Regions from separate parts of the Homo sapiens genome. Here region 2 is linked to region 1. Evidence: promoter capture Hi-C in human tissues and cell types (Jung and others, 2019). All regions are on one chromosome and are shown on one strand. The core of a region is centred on a gene start or on the middle of the fragment in contact, and the rest is flanking DNA. Distances in the headings are between cores, read along the strand shown.

Region 1 (7,057 bases), core at 1,290-3,789:
CCTACCCTTGTGGAGCTTATGTTTTATGGGAGTGGGTGGAGAAACAGACAATAAACACCTTAGTATTTTAATTTTCCAGGTGTTGAGAAGAGCCACAGAGATTCTCAAAGAAAGCCCCATGTTGATGAGGGGTTTCAATGTAGAATGGGGGGTCCACGAAGCCTTCACTAAATAGGTGACATTGGAGTGAACACAAAAATGAAGAAATGAGCCACATGGATGACTTTCTGGGGAACACAAAAATGAAGAAATGAGCCATATGGATGACTTTCTGGGGAAAGAGTGCTCAAGCAGTGGGCTGGCCAGGGTGACAGCCCTGGGGTGGGCTGTTCTTGGTAAGTTCAAGCACAGCGTTGCTAGAGATGAGTGGAAGATGGTGACTCTGCACACTCAGTTTTCTGAAGGCCTCCTGGATTTGGAACCTTCTAATCCTTCATCCTCATTAACCTCAAAATGTCCCCAGATATTCTGAACTACATCTCCCAGGGTGTCTGCCTCTTGAATTTGGAAATGACACAGTATTCCCACCTGGCAATACACCGTGATTTGAGATTTGGAAGACACAATTCAATCCAGAAATTGCTAAGCACTGTCCACTGGGGCATTACAATGGGATTCCAGGAGAACAACCACACATAACCCACTATTTCACCTCTGACTTCATGAAAACACACGTGTATACATGCTTGTGCACGTGAGTGTGCACAGACACACCACACACACTGGAAGAAACAACTGAGTCAAAAGGTAAAACATTTTTTTCCACAAACATTTTAGCTGACATTCTAAGATCAAAATAAAGACAAAAACAATGAGCAAGTTCATTGCAGGACTTCCCCAATGGCAGTTTTCCCCCCTCCACTCTTGGTTGCAGACAGCATGGCTGCTTTACAGCCATCAGAAGAAACACTGCTCATGGTGATGGTCAGCTATCCTTCAACCTGTTCAAGCCAGAAGCCTGAAAACTGAGCATGCTGGATTCTCTTCTCCCTTCTACCTACCTCACTCCCTCAGTGATCTCAGGTCTCACGGCTTCAAACACTATCTGAGTGCTGCTGGAGTCCAGCTTTGTATATGCAGGCCAGACCTCCCCCTGACCTTCAGCTATCCTACAACTGCTGCCTTCACTTCATCTCCTCTTAGCTGTCTAGAGGACATCTCGAATGTCACATGTTCCAAATCAAGCCACTGGCATGCATTCATCTCCTTCCACCTTCTCTCCTTCCCCATCTTGGTTAATGGCAAGTCTATTCTTCCAACTACTCAGAACAAAAATTTGAACTCATCTTGACTCTTCTCTTCCTCTCACATTAGTCATTAATTCATCAGCAAATCCTATAGGTTCTTCCTTAAAGTATATCCACAAGCTGACCCCTGTCACCACCGATGCCACTTAGTGCAAGCCAAGAACCTCTTGGTTGGTCTCCCTGCTCCTGCTTTTTGCCCCCCACTGATTAGTCTCAACCCAGCAGCCAGAATGATCCAGTTAAAACCCAAGTCAGATTGTGTCTCTCCTCTAAGGGCTCCCCTCTCACTCAGAGGAAAAGCCAAAGTTCCTTCAATGCAACCAGGGGGTGTCCTGCATGGTCCTCCTGCCCCCCGCCCCCTTGCCTCTCTTATTCCACTTCCCATCAGGCTCCACCCTGCTCTCTTTGCTTCAGCCATGCCGGCTGTTCCTCAGACATGCCAGCATACTCTTGCCTTGGAACCTTCACATTTATCATTCTGTCTGCCCCGAACACTCAACCTCAAATAGCTGTGCAGCCCTCTCCTTTACACAAATGGTAACTCTTCCATGAAACCTTTCTCCACCACTCAATGTCCATTTCCAAGCCCAGCCCATGCTCCCCAGCCCCATCCCTGCTCTGCTTTTTTGCCTTCATCCTCATCACTATCTGACCCAGTGGATAGTTTTAATTGTATCTGTCACTAGAATGCAAGCTCCATGAGACACACATTTTTGTCTGTGTTATTCATTGCTCTACTTCCAGTTCCCAGAACAATTTTGGCACATAGCATGTGTTCATTAATTATGTGTTGGTTAAATGAAGGAAGCTTTATGAGGGAAAGAGCATGCCACTCCTCTTCCAGCGTCCCCCTTGGTGGCCAGGGCAGAGCAGGCATTCAGCTGCTCTTGTGGGAGAAGAAGGGACTTGCAAGATCATCTCCCTTAGCTCCCTCATTTTCAGGAGGCCAGGGACAGTGGTCCCCAGGAAGGGAAGGAGAGTCCAACCTAGTTTGCCTGATCCCCCATGGGAGGCTGAGGTTGCAAACAGACAGCTGCAGCTCCTTGCAGCTATGCCACACACACAGCCTTTCTGAATCAGAGGGTATTAGTCTTTCCTTCTGAACTCTTGGGATATTCCTGTTTTGATTTGGCTCTAGCAGTGACCACACCGAGTTGTGCAAAGCCTGGGAACAGTGAGGGCATTAGGACCAGGAGTGACGCGCACGCTTGGCTCTGGGTTGTGTCTGGCAGAGGGCTCTCGGCTGAGTGGAGCTATGTGTGAAAGGAAACCAGGCACTGCCTGCCGGCTTTACATCTGTTGATCTGACCTGACTGGAAGCGTCCAAAGAGGGACGGCTGTCAGCCCTGCTTGACTGAGAACCCACCAGCTCATCCCAGACACCTCATAGCAACCTATTTATACAAAGGGGGAAAGAAACACCTGAGCAGAATGGAATCATTATTTTTTTCCCAAGGAGAAAACCGGGGTAAAGGGAGGGAAGCAATTCAATTTGAAGTCCCTGTGAATGGGCTTTCAGAAGGCAATTAAAGAAATCCACTCAGAGAGGACTTGGGGTGAAACTTGGGTCCTGTGGTTTTCTGATTGTAAGTGGAAGCAGGTCTTGCACACGCTGTTGGCAAATGTCAGGACCAGGTTAAGTGACTGGCAGAAAAACTTCCAGGTGGAACAAGCAACCCAGGTTCTGCTGCAAGCTTGAAGGAGCCTGGAGCGGGAGAAAGCTAACTTGAACATGACCTGTTGCATTTGGCAAGTTCTAGCAACATGCTCCTAAGGAAGCGATACAGGCACAGACCATGCAGACTCCAGTTCCTCCTGCTGCTCCTGATGCTGGGATGCGTCCTGATGATGGTGGCGATGTTGCACCCTCCCCACCACACCCTGCACCAGACTGTCACAGCCCAAGCCAGCAAGCACAGCCCTGAAGCCAGGTACCGCCTGGACTTTGGGGAATCCCAGGATTGGGTACTGGAAGCTGAGGATGAGGGTGAAGAGTACAGCCCTCTGGAGGGCCTGCCACCCTTTATCTCACTGCGGGAGGATCAGCTGCTGGTGGCCGTGGCCTTACCCCAGGCCAGAAGGAACCAGAGCCAGGGCAGGAGAGGTGGGAGCTACCGCCTCATCAAGCAGCCAAGGAGGCAGGATAAGGAAGCCCCAAAGAGGGACTGGGGGGCTGATGAGGACGGGGAGGTGTCTGAAGAAGAGGAGTTGACCCCGTTCAGCCTGGACCCACGTGGCCTCCAGGAGGCACTCAGTGCCCGCATCCCCCTCCAGAGGGCTCTGCCCGAGGTGCGGCACCCACTGTAAGTAAGGCCCTTGTTTTCCCTTCCCTGATCCCAGGGCATGATCGGGTGGTAGCAAACTCGGGAATGCAAACTTTCCGTAGCCTGCCTCTCCTGACTTAGAGCAAGTGCTTTTCAAGATGCAGTACCTGGGCCAGCAGCGTCAGCAGCCCCTGGGCACTGGTGGGTTCTCAGAAATGCAGATTCTCAGACCCCATCCCAGACCTGCCAAACAAGAAACTCTGGGTGGGGTCCAGTGGTCTGTATGAACAAGCCCTTCAGGTGAGAATCATTGTCCTAGAAAGCAGAAAGTGAGGACTCTTGCTTGTTCATTCTCTTCTCCGTCCTGGGTTCTAGTTCTTCTGTCTTTAGGTCAAATGGCTTTATTTCTATAACACAGAAGGGAGGTTAGAGCAGACATTTGCCAGTTCTAACACTCTGACTCCACTACATTTTGATTTTAGGGTTATTGTTAGTGTTTGCTTTTAGTTTGGATCAAAATAACAATTGCAGTTTACATTTAGGGGGCTCTTCCCATGCGTCTGGATTTACTTTACAAGCTTTTAATGTATTAACTCATAAAGTCCTGGAAAGTCCTCACAGCTCTGCAAGATGGGTGCTAGTAGTATCATCATGCTTATTCTATAGGTATGAAAACAAGGTGAAGTTGCTTTCCCAGTCACGCTGCTAGTAGGTAACAAAGTCAGGATTTGAATGCAGGCATGTGAGCTCCAGTCTGCCTGACCCACCACTCCATGCCACCTGCCTTGGGCCACTAGACTAAGGAAACAGGTCCAGTGCCTGAGAGCCAGAATACTGTGCTGACTGCAATTTACCCTGCCAGGGCAGCCCCAGCCCCAGGAGGTAAGCTGAGAAGTGTAGGTGATGGGCAGAGCTGTGCCCAGGGAGATGCTGGCCCATCCTCCACACCCCCTGCTCCCTTACTGTCACCATGGCTGACCACTGAGGAGGGAGCCTTGGTTACCAGCATCCAGGGAGCAAGGCAGCTTGTTAGTTTTAGTTTGGTGATTTAGGTCCCTTTTCCTATAGGCCATTGCTCCTCCCAGAGCCTGGAGAGTTTCCTGGAAAGCAAACATTTGTGCAGGGCAGCAGTTGGAAGCAGGGCCACACACTCTTCGGATCCCTGATCTAGTTCCCCTCAGCCTGGCTGCTCAGCCACTCACACTCGAGGGTGTGCAATTGCAGGGTCAGCAGCCGGGAGTGAACATCTCCTTAAATTGTGTGCCCCGGGTGCCTCACTCACCGCACCCTACTTCCATTTCAAACCCGCTACACTGTTTTCAAGCCTTACCTTTAAAAGCTATTTTCAGGAAATTCCCACCCCATTCTAGTTTTGTGCCCTCCTTGCACCCTGGAGTTTTAACTCACAGCACTTACAAAACTAAAGCCAAATGATTATTGATGTATTTATCAGTCGAATGCCTGCTTTCCCTGCTATGCTGTGAGCCCCTTAGAAGGTCAGGACTGAGTTTGTATTGTACATCCCAAAGCCCAACATGCAGTAAAGAAGTGATTGCTGAATGAACAAACATAGTTTTCAAATTTTTTGACACTATTTTTCACTGGCCTGGAGCAAGAGTGAGCATCCTCTTTTTGCCGATAAGAAATAATATTGCCTGAAACGAGAGGGTCTGTGGCTACCAAAGTGGTCTGTGTGTGTGACTGTGTGTTTGCATAGTGCAAATGTGTGGTGAATATGCATATTTGTGGGTCATGGTATATGTATGTTCGTGCATGTGTGTTGTATATATTCTCTGTGTTGTGTGTGCATTGCATTATGTGTATTAAATGGATGTCGTGCATGTATGTGTAGTACATGCAGGTACTGCGTTATGTGGTGCCTATATGCTTGGTGCATGTTACTTTGTGTATGTGATATGATATGCACAGCTATGCATTGTGCAATGTGTCATCTTGTGTGCATGTGTGTTAATGTGCATGTATTATGTGCATGGTTCATATATGTATTGTGTATTGGGGTGATGCCACATGCATTGTTCATCTGGGTGTGTGTTGCAGTTTGCTATTTGTTTTGCATATGTTCACGTGGTGCATGTGTGCACAGGTATTGTGTTGTAACTGTGTTTCTTGTGTATGATGTGCTTCTGTGGTGCATTGTGCTATAAATGCATTGTGTGAATGGGATATGCATATATGTACAAGTGTGTTGTGTTTATTATGCATGTGGTATAAAGTGCATGGATATGTTGTATGTGGCACAAGTGCAGGTAAATTTTGTGGTGTGTGTGCTGTGCACGTATTTGTGTGTGCTGTGTGTGTAGTGTGCATGGGTGTAATACGTGTGTATTGCGTATCTTGTGCATGTGGTGTGATGTGCACATGTACTGTGCATGTACTGTGCCTGTGTGTGCTGTAGTGTTTGTTTTACATGTTTTGTGGTACATGTGTGCGTATGTATTCTTTGTGTGTTGCATGTATGTTATACATGTGAGGTGTGAGTGATACATGTGTATATGTGCAGGCATGTTGTGTATGTTATGCATGTAGTGTGATGTTCATGAGTGTGTGATGTGCACTGTGAGTTGCGTGGTGCAAGTGTGGGTACATTTTGTGCTGTGTGTGTTTGATGTGCACGTGTGCGTTTATGTGTGTGTGCAACACTTCAGTGGTTGCTTCTTCCAGCCAGAGTAACCAACTCGTCTTGACTTGCCTGAGACTTCCCAGATTTTAGCACTGAAGGTCCCAGGCAGTCGGGAGGAAACTCCTCAACCCCTGCGAAGGGAGACGATTGGATTCTCCAATCCCCAGCTTGCCAGGGTTCTCACGGAACGGCCGCCAGCTTTGTGCGGAGGTGCTCAGCGCCCTCTGCTGGCCCCGGCTGGTGCGTGCGGCCTGCGCAGCCCAGGCCTTGGCTGCAGACTCCCCTCTCCAGTCTGCGGTTCAAGCTCTGGCGCCTTCCCTTAACTGGATTCCTCGCCTGCATGCACAAGAGAGTCCCTGCAAAGCAAGGCAAACGATCTCCACCCTCCCCCCAGGGTGACAGGACTCTTCGGCTCCTACCCCTTTAAATCTGGGCCACAATACAACACAGAAGAGAAACAGGCATATATTAAGTGCCTGCAGTATGCGGGCCCTGCACCGCTGCTTTCCCACCAGGACCAGCAGAGCGCTAGGACATCAGGAGCCTGTGCCTCGGGCTGTAGCGCACCCCGTGCTATCGCCAGCCACACATCCCCTTGCAATTCCATCCTTGACTCCTAAGCCAGACAAGCCCCTCTGGCCCAGTTCCTACACCCAAATGCCCAAACTAGCTCTGCCTGTTGTCCTTTCCCCCCTGCCCAGGCCACAGGCCTTTTTCTGAGTACCTTTAGAGTCATTTCTGGAGGTCAGTTTGAATAGGTGGCATTTGAGGAAAATTACCAATGATGCAAGAGCAAAAAAGAAAAATATCAGTGGAAAAGAGGTCAAAAGACAGTCTCTGAAAAGAGAGGCAAAATTACAGTGAACATTTATTGAGCACTTACTATGTGCTAGAGGCTCTGCTAA
Region 2 (6,988 bases), core at 1,931-4,430, 500 kb before region 1:
TTTCACCCGTATTGCACCCAGTCAGCTGGTTTTTAATTCTAATAGTATAAAAATTGGAAATTTGAAATAGTTCTGTAAAAGAAAAAAATGTAAAAATACATCTGCTTTCTCTCATGGTTTAATACAGCATTGGAAGGCTTTCAGATGTTTTCTTAAAAAAAAAACAAAACCCAAAAAAACTCAACATTTAAAACCAAATCTCAGCTTCATTTCCAGAAATATTGCAGTTTGGTTTAGGTAATGTTTCATTTAATCTACTCCAGTTTCCACAAAATGGCATTTTATTAAAAAAACCTTTCAGTTATTTGGTCCTTTTGCAATTTGCTGTGCACATAATGCCTACTGTACCAAACTTTTATTGCCTTTAAATTTAGTTGTAATTTTATTGATAAAATTTAAATCTAGTGTCTTTATTTCTTCTGTTACAATAGTGTTGCTTGTGTAAGCAGGTTAGAGTGCACAGTGTCCCCAATTGTTCCTGGCACTGCAAAACCAAATTAAACAATTCCACAAAGAATTCTGACATCAATGTGTTTTCCTCAGTCAGGTCTATTTCAAGATTCTAGAAGTTCCTTTTGTAAAACTTGCCTTTAAAACTCTTCCTCCTAATGCCATCAGATCTCTTAACATTGGCTCACTGTGGGATCTTTCCTCTTAGGTTGAATTTCTACGTGAATATCAAAGTGCCTTTTTCCTGAAAAAGCACAGTTTGAAGCTTTACTGTGAGAACTCCCTCCTCCTCAGCCTCTCAGTAGGTCTCAGAATCGGAGTCGTTGAGCTCATCCACGTCAGTGTATAAGTACTCCTGTTCCCCTCCAATGTTATTGAAACTGCAATAGGAGCTAGGTTCATTCCTCATGATGGGCAAAGCTTCAAAGCTGACTGTTTTTGAGGTGTTGGTATAACGGTTAATGGCATTGAATGTTAAGGATGATAAAGGACTACTTGATGAGACAGGCATCATGGTGGCCAAAATGAGAGCCAGGCAATCAGCCACATCCTTATTGGGAGCACAGGCCAAAGCTGGGGTATAGCCTAGAATTAAAGATAAAATTTAAAAATTAAGCATCCTGAGATGTATTTCACCAAAGACAAGGAAATAAGCCTAAAGTACTTCAACTTTAGACATATTTTACATTACTTAGCTTATAATAAATTGCTGTAACCAGCATGATTCGCAAGTTTCTAATAAGTAGAAAAAGAATAGCCATAGAAACCTAGGGTGGAAGGGGATGTTAGACTAGACAACAGAAGAGGAAGCAGGCCCAGAGAAGAATGATTCCCCAAGGTCTCACAACTTATCCGTATCCATCTGAATTCACAGAAAAAACTGGGCTAGAATAAGAAAAACACCACATATCGTGAATATTCTTTCAGGATGGTAGGCAGAGATTTACTGTTAATTTGCAGTTATATCAGTGTCAAGGTAAGAAAAAATAAAAAAATTTAATTTGTAGTTATGTAAGGAAACTTTTTGATGCTAAGAAATCTTAAATGTGTACAGCTTCATGAATCAGCCACAGGGCAGGTGCTCAAAAGATATGTGTTGAATGAATGACACTTAGTTGTCAATTTAACTTTTCTCTTGGGGTCACAGTCTCTTGAAGAAAAACAGTAGACAAACTAAGCAGATGAACTTTAAAAACTACTAAATCAAAACAAATATTTCCTTTGTAAATATTCCCTTTTTTTAAGCGGAAGACAACTGACCTTAGTCGTAAGTTACCACAAAGTGTCAACACAGCAAACCAAGGAGGAAACATTTGGTACCTCAGTTGGTACAAGACTCAGTCTTGAGGACGGAGCGGGAGAGAAGTGATAATAGTGTGATGCCAAGCTTCAATTATACCATATGGAACTTTAATAGTTTTATCACATAACATACATTTGTATAACCACCATACAGATTAAGAAAGAGAACATTACCAGCATACCAGAAGCCTCCATATATCCTCTACCCAGTCGTTACACCTTTCTTCTTCCACAATGGTAACTACTATCCTGACTTATGGGGTAGTAATTTCCTTGCTTTCAACTTGGAGTCATAAACACTATAGTTTTTTTTTTGTTTTTTTTTTTTTGAGACAGAGTCTGCTCGGTCACCCAAGCTGAAGTTCAGTGGTGCAAACTTGGCTCACTGCAACCTTTGCCTCCTGGGTTCAAGTGATTCACCTGCCTCAGCCTCCTGAGTAGCTGGGATTACACGTGTGTGCCACCATGACCAGCTAATTTTTTATATTTTTAGTAGAGATGGGATTTCGCTATGTTGGCCAGGCTGGTCTCAAACTCCTGGCCTCAAGTGATCTGCCTGCCTCGGCCTCCCAAATGCTGGGATTACAGATGTGAACCACCTTACCCAGCCTACAGTTTAGAGTTTTTAAAAAACTTAATATAAATGGAATCATGTAGTATGTATTATTTCATATCTGGCATTTTTGTGTAGCATTATATGAAATTTATCAATGTTGTATGTAACTGTAGTTGGTTCATTTTCATTGTTATACAGTATTTCATTGTGTGATTATACTATGGTTTAGTTATACATTTCAACTACTGGGCATCTGGTTGCTTCCAGTTCTCCCACATATTTTCATCTATGCTATATTGGCCTTGATAAAAAAAGGATTTTTTTTTTTTTTTTTGAGACAGGGTCTTGTTCTGTCACCCAGGCTGGAGTGCAGTATAATGATCATGCTCACTGCACCCTCAACCTCTGGGCTCAAGTGATCCTCCCACCTCAGCCCCCTGACTAGCTCTGACTATAGGCACATGCCATGCCTGGCTAATTTTTAAACTTTTTTGTAGATACAGGGTCTCGCTTTGTTCCCCAGGCTGGTCTCAAACTGCTGGCTTTAAGTGATCTTCCCGCCTCTGCCTCCCAAAGTGCTGGGATTATAGGAGTAAGCCACTGTGCCCAGCCACAAAAAGTAATTTTTCCCCCTTTGTAAAGTTCCCATTTTGTCAAGGGTCAAAGAGAACAACTGATGTCCTTCCAAGTTTGGCAGCAGTGGCTGAAGGCTGTCCGTATTTTTAATTAAATTTTATTTGTTCAAAGTAGCTGGGGGAGTGCTTCACTGCCCACACTTCTTTCAAGGGTTCTTCTAAAGGTGCCTGCTGCTGTTCCTGCTGCTGGCAGGCAGAACAACCCATTACATAGGCCAGGATGCCTTGGATGAGAGCGGGAGTGGGGAAAGAAGCTTGTTTCAGGTGTGTTTTCTAGTCAGAATATGACTAAAAACAGGCTCCTCTCCTCTGCATGGGGGTTATTTTTTGAGACGAAGTCTGGCTCTGTCACCCAGGCTAGAGTGCACTGGCATGATCTCGGCTCACTGCAACTTCTGCCTCCTGGGTTCAAGCGATTCTCTTGCCTCAGCCTCCCAAGTAGCTAGGATTACAGGCACATGCCACCACACCTGGCTAATTTTTGTATTTTTAGTAGAGACGGGGTTTTGCCATGTTGGCGGGGCTGGTCTCGAACTCCTGACCTCAGGTGATCCACTCGCCTTGTGCCTCCCAAAGTGCTAGGACCATAGGCATGGGCCACCATGCCCGGCCAGTTTTATCTCTTAACATGCCACTCTCTTTGCTTAGAAAGTTCCTCCCCCACTTTCTCCTTATCCTTTGGATTTTGGCTTAGCAGTTGCATTTTTTGGGATGCCTTCTCTGATCCTGCAAGAAAGGATTTGAAGACCCTCTTAAGTACTCTCATAGCATTCTATGCTTATTCCAATTAAACTATTTTAAGTGCATCGTTAATAGGCTGTTTGCACTCTTATCTCCATTCAAGGGAGTAGACTATGTCTTATTTTACACTATATCATCAGAAGTTAGTACAGTGCTTGGCATAATCACTCATGCAGCAAATATTCACTGAGCCTCCACTTGCTCAGGCACTATTTAGAACACTAAGAATATATCAGTGAATGCAACTGACAAAGATTTCACTGTTCTTGTGGAGCTTACATTCACTTTAGTGGAGAAGACACAAAATCAACATAACAAAAAAGTACATTATATACAATATGTTAAAAGCTTTATGTAAAAAAAGAGGAAAGAGTGGAGCAGGTTAACAAGGACTGAGAATGCTATGGTAGGGGTATCTAGCAAGTTGTAGTAAAGAATAGTTAGAATATGCTTCATTGAGAAGATGAAACTGGAGCTAAGATTTGAAACAGGTGACGAATTTAGTCATGGGATGTTTGGGGACAGAGTGTTCAGGCAGAGTAAACAGCCAGAATGAAGATCACAATGCATGTATAACCCTGCTATGGAGGGGCTGGCATGGCAGAATGAAGTAGAGAAAGGAGAAGAGTAGGAAATAATATCAGAAAGGTAACAAGGTGGAGGACACATCATGTAGGGCCTAGTAAGGTCATTTTAAGAACTATGAGTGGGGCCAGGTGGAGCACTCTGGGAGGCTGAGGTGGGGGGATTGCTTGAGGCCAGGAGTTCAAGACCGGCCTGGACAATATAGTGAGAGTCTGTCAGCACAAAAAATAAATTAGCTAGGCCTGGTGATGCATACTTATAGTGCTAGCTACTTGGGAGGCTGAGGTGAGAGGTTCTCTTGAGCCCAGGAGTTCAAGGTTACAATCAGCTATGATCTCACCACTGTACTCTAGTCTGGGCAACAGAGTGAGACCCTGCCTCTTCAAAAAAAAAAAAAAAAAAAAAAAAGAAGAAGAACCGAAATTCAAGAGTAACATGTTCTCATATACTTTAAAAGGATCCAGGTCAGTCTGGTAGCAGTAAAGAAAAAAGTGGGCATACTTTAGATCTACTTTAGAGGTGGAGTCAATAGTATATGCTGATGGACTATACATTGAGTATGAGTGAGAGGAATCAAGGATGACTCTAGGGGTTTTGCCCTGAGCCACTGTTAAGAATGAGAATTGTCTTCAATGGAGAGAGCATGATGCTGTGGGGAGAGTAGGTCTGGCAAGGGGAGTGGGAAAGGATCAACAGTTCAGTTCTGCACATTCTAGGTTTAAGCTGTTTATCAGACATCCACATGGATGTGTCAATTAGGCACGTGGATATATAGAGACTGTGAGAAGTCTGGGCTGGAGATATAAATCTGGGAATCCTCAGCATTATAGGTAGTATTTAAAACCAAAGGAACTGATGAGAGCACTAGGGAGTCAATGTAGATAGAGAAAGCAAAAAGAACGAAGAATTGAGTCCTAGAAGAAGAGGGAGAAATTTTGTAAAAGAAATTAAGAAGGAATAACTAGTAATGTAGAAGGAAAACCAAGGAAGAGTGGGGTTCAAAAAGCAGAGTAAAAAAATTTATCAAAGGAAACGATCAGTTGTGCCAAAAGCTGATCTATCAAGTAAAATGAGAGCTAAGTAGTAGTTAACACAGTAGAAGTCATTGGTGGTTTTGATGGGAACAGTTTTGCTATGTGTAGGGGTGAGGGGGAGAAGGCCTGACTATACGGAAATTAAGAGAGAATGGAAGAATGAGGCTGGACGCTGTGGCTCACACCTGTAATCCCAGCAATTTGGGAGGCCAAGGCAGGCAGATCACCTGAGGTCAGGGGTTTGAGACCAGCCTGGCCAATATGGTGAAACTCCGTCTCTACTAAAAATACAAAATTTAGCCAGGCGTCGTGGCAGGTGTCAGTAATCCCAGCTACCTGGGCAGGCTGAGGCATGAGAATCGCTTGAACCCAGGAGGCGGAGGTTGCAGTAAGCCGAGATCATGGCACTGCACTCCAGCCTGGGCAACAGAGCTAGACTCCGTCTCAAAAACAAACAACAACAACAACAACAAAAGAATGGAAGAATGAGAGGAATAACTGCGGACAGCAAGAGAGTAGTTTTGCTGCAAAAGGGGACAGAGAAATATGGCAGTAGCTGGCAGGAGCAGTGAGATTTATAAATTATTTTTTAAGGATGAGGGAACTAATGTTTATATACTGAGAGGAATAATACAGGAAGAGAGCGAAAAATGTTACTCCAGGACACAAAAGAGAACTGTCAAACTGACATTATGAAGTAGGCAAAAGGGGACAGGATCTAGTGCATGAGTAGAAACACTGGCTTTAAATAAGAATATTAGTACTTAACTAGGATCTTGATACATATTTGCTGAAAGAACAAAATCTTTGGCTACTAAAACAACAGAAAGTGGCAAGTATAAACAGTAAATACTAACTTTGCTGTAACAGATGATATAGGAATTCGGAAGTACATCTGTTAGATAACTTTTCCTATTTCTTTTGCCCTTATTCCTTTGCCACAAACTACTCTTCAATATTAACTTTAGCTCTCCTCTTTGACCAATAAAAAATATCCAAGTTTATTTCTCTTCAAATATGGATCAAAAGATAAAAGCTCTAGGTTAAGGGAAGAGAATATAGAACCAACTTACCATTTTCATCTACTGCAAGCACACTTGCTCCTTTTCCCAAAAGTTCCTGAACCACCATTGTTAGCCCATTTCGGGCAGCAACATGCAGAGGTCTAGGGGAAAAAACATGATACATGTACACATATGTGCATGTGCATGCACATACACATACACACCTGGCTGTCAAAGAGCATTTTTGTCAACTTGTGAAGACCAAGAGGTACAAACTCGAGAAACCTAGTCCTAATAACAAAGATGGGGGCAGGGAGAGCAGAACCTCTGTGCAGTGCACTGTCACACCTTGTCAACGTGTAGCTCGGCATCAAGCTCAGCCATAGGTCCCATCGACAGGTCCCTACCTTCACCCAATCCTTTTGTTACTTTTCTTTTCAATGTTTAAAAACATTTTACCATTGAAATTGCATTCCTCCGTTGTTAAGGAATGAGGCTGGTAAAGATACAGACTATACATTAAAAACTGTAAACTGCAGTAGCATAAATTCTAATAGGCTTTGAAAACAGCTTACAAGCATCATGACTAATTTTTGGACCTTCAAGGGATCTGACTAATCCCAGAACGGGCAACAATATTCTAAGATTTTTATCTTTACTAAACCTCAAAATGGAATAGCA

The links. The method cuts DNA at HindIII sites, captures the fragments that hold promoters and counts their contacts. A contact is called where the count stands out against the background at its distance.
Region 2: a fragment that was not itself captured here is called in contact with the fragment with the promoter of GALNT15 in region 1 in 2 of the 25 tissues and cell types used here (aorta and dorsolateral prefrontal cortex).

The regions. Positions count from the first base shown.
Region 1 is chr3:16,172,141-16,179,197 of GRCh38, forward strand. GALNT15 (polypeptide N-acetylgalactosaminyltransferase 15) reads left to right here and starts at 2,540. Exons shown (of 10, transcript NM_054110.5): 1 at 2,540-3,550. The coding sequence starts at 3,012. The HindIII fragment of the contact is 4,561 bases long and covers 1-3,515 here.
Region 2 is chr3:15,669,522-15,676,509 of GRCh38, forward strand. ANKRD28 (ankyrin repeat domain 28) reads right to left here. Exons shown (of 28, transcript NM_001349278.2): 27 at 6,377-6,468; 28 at 1-1,035. The coding sequence ends at 749. It also overlaps a transcript of BTD not described here. Among named protein-coding and RNA genes, the nearest start is that of MIR3134, 24 kb to the right of the region's middle. The HindIII fragment of the contact is 4,777 bases long and covers 793-5,569 here.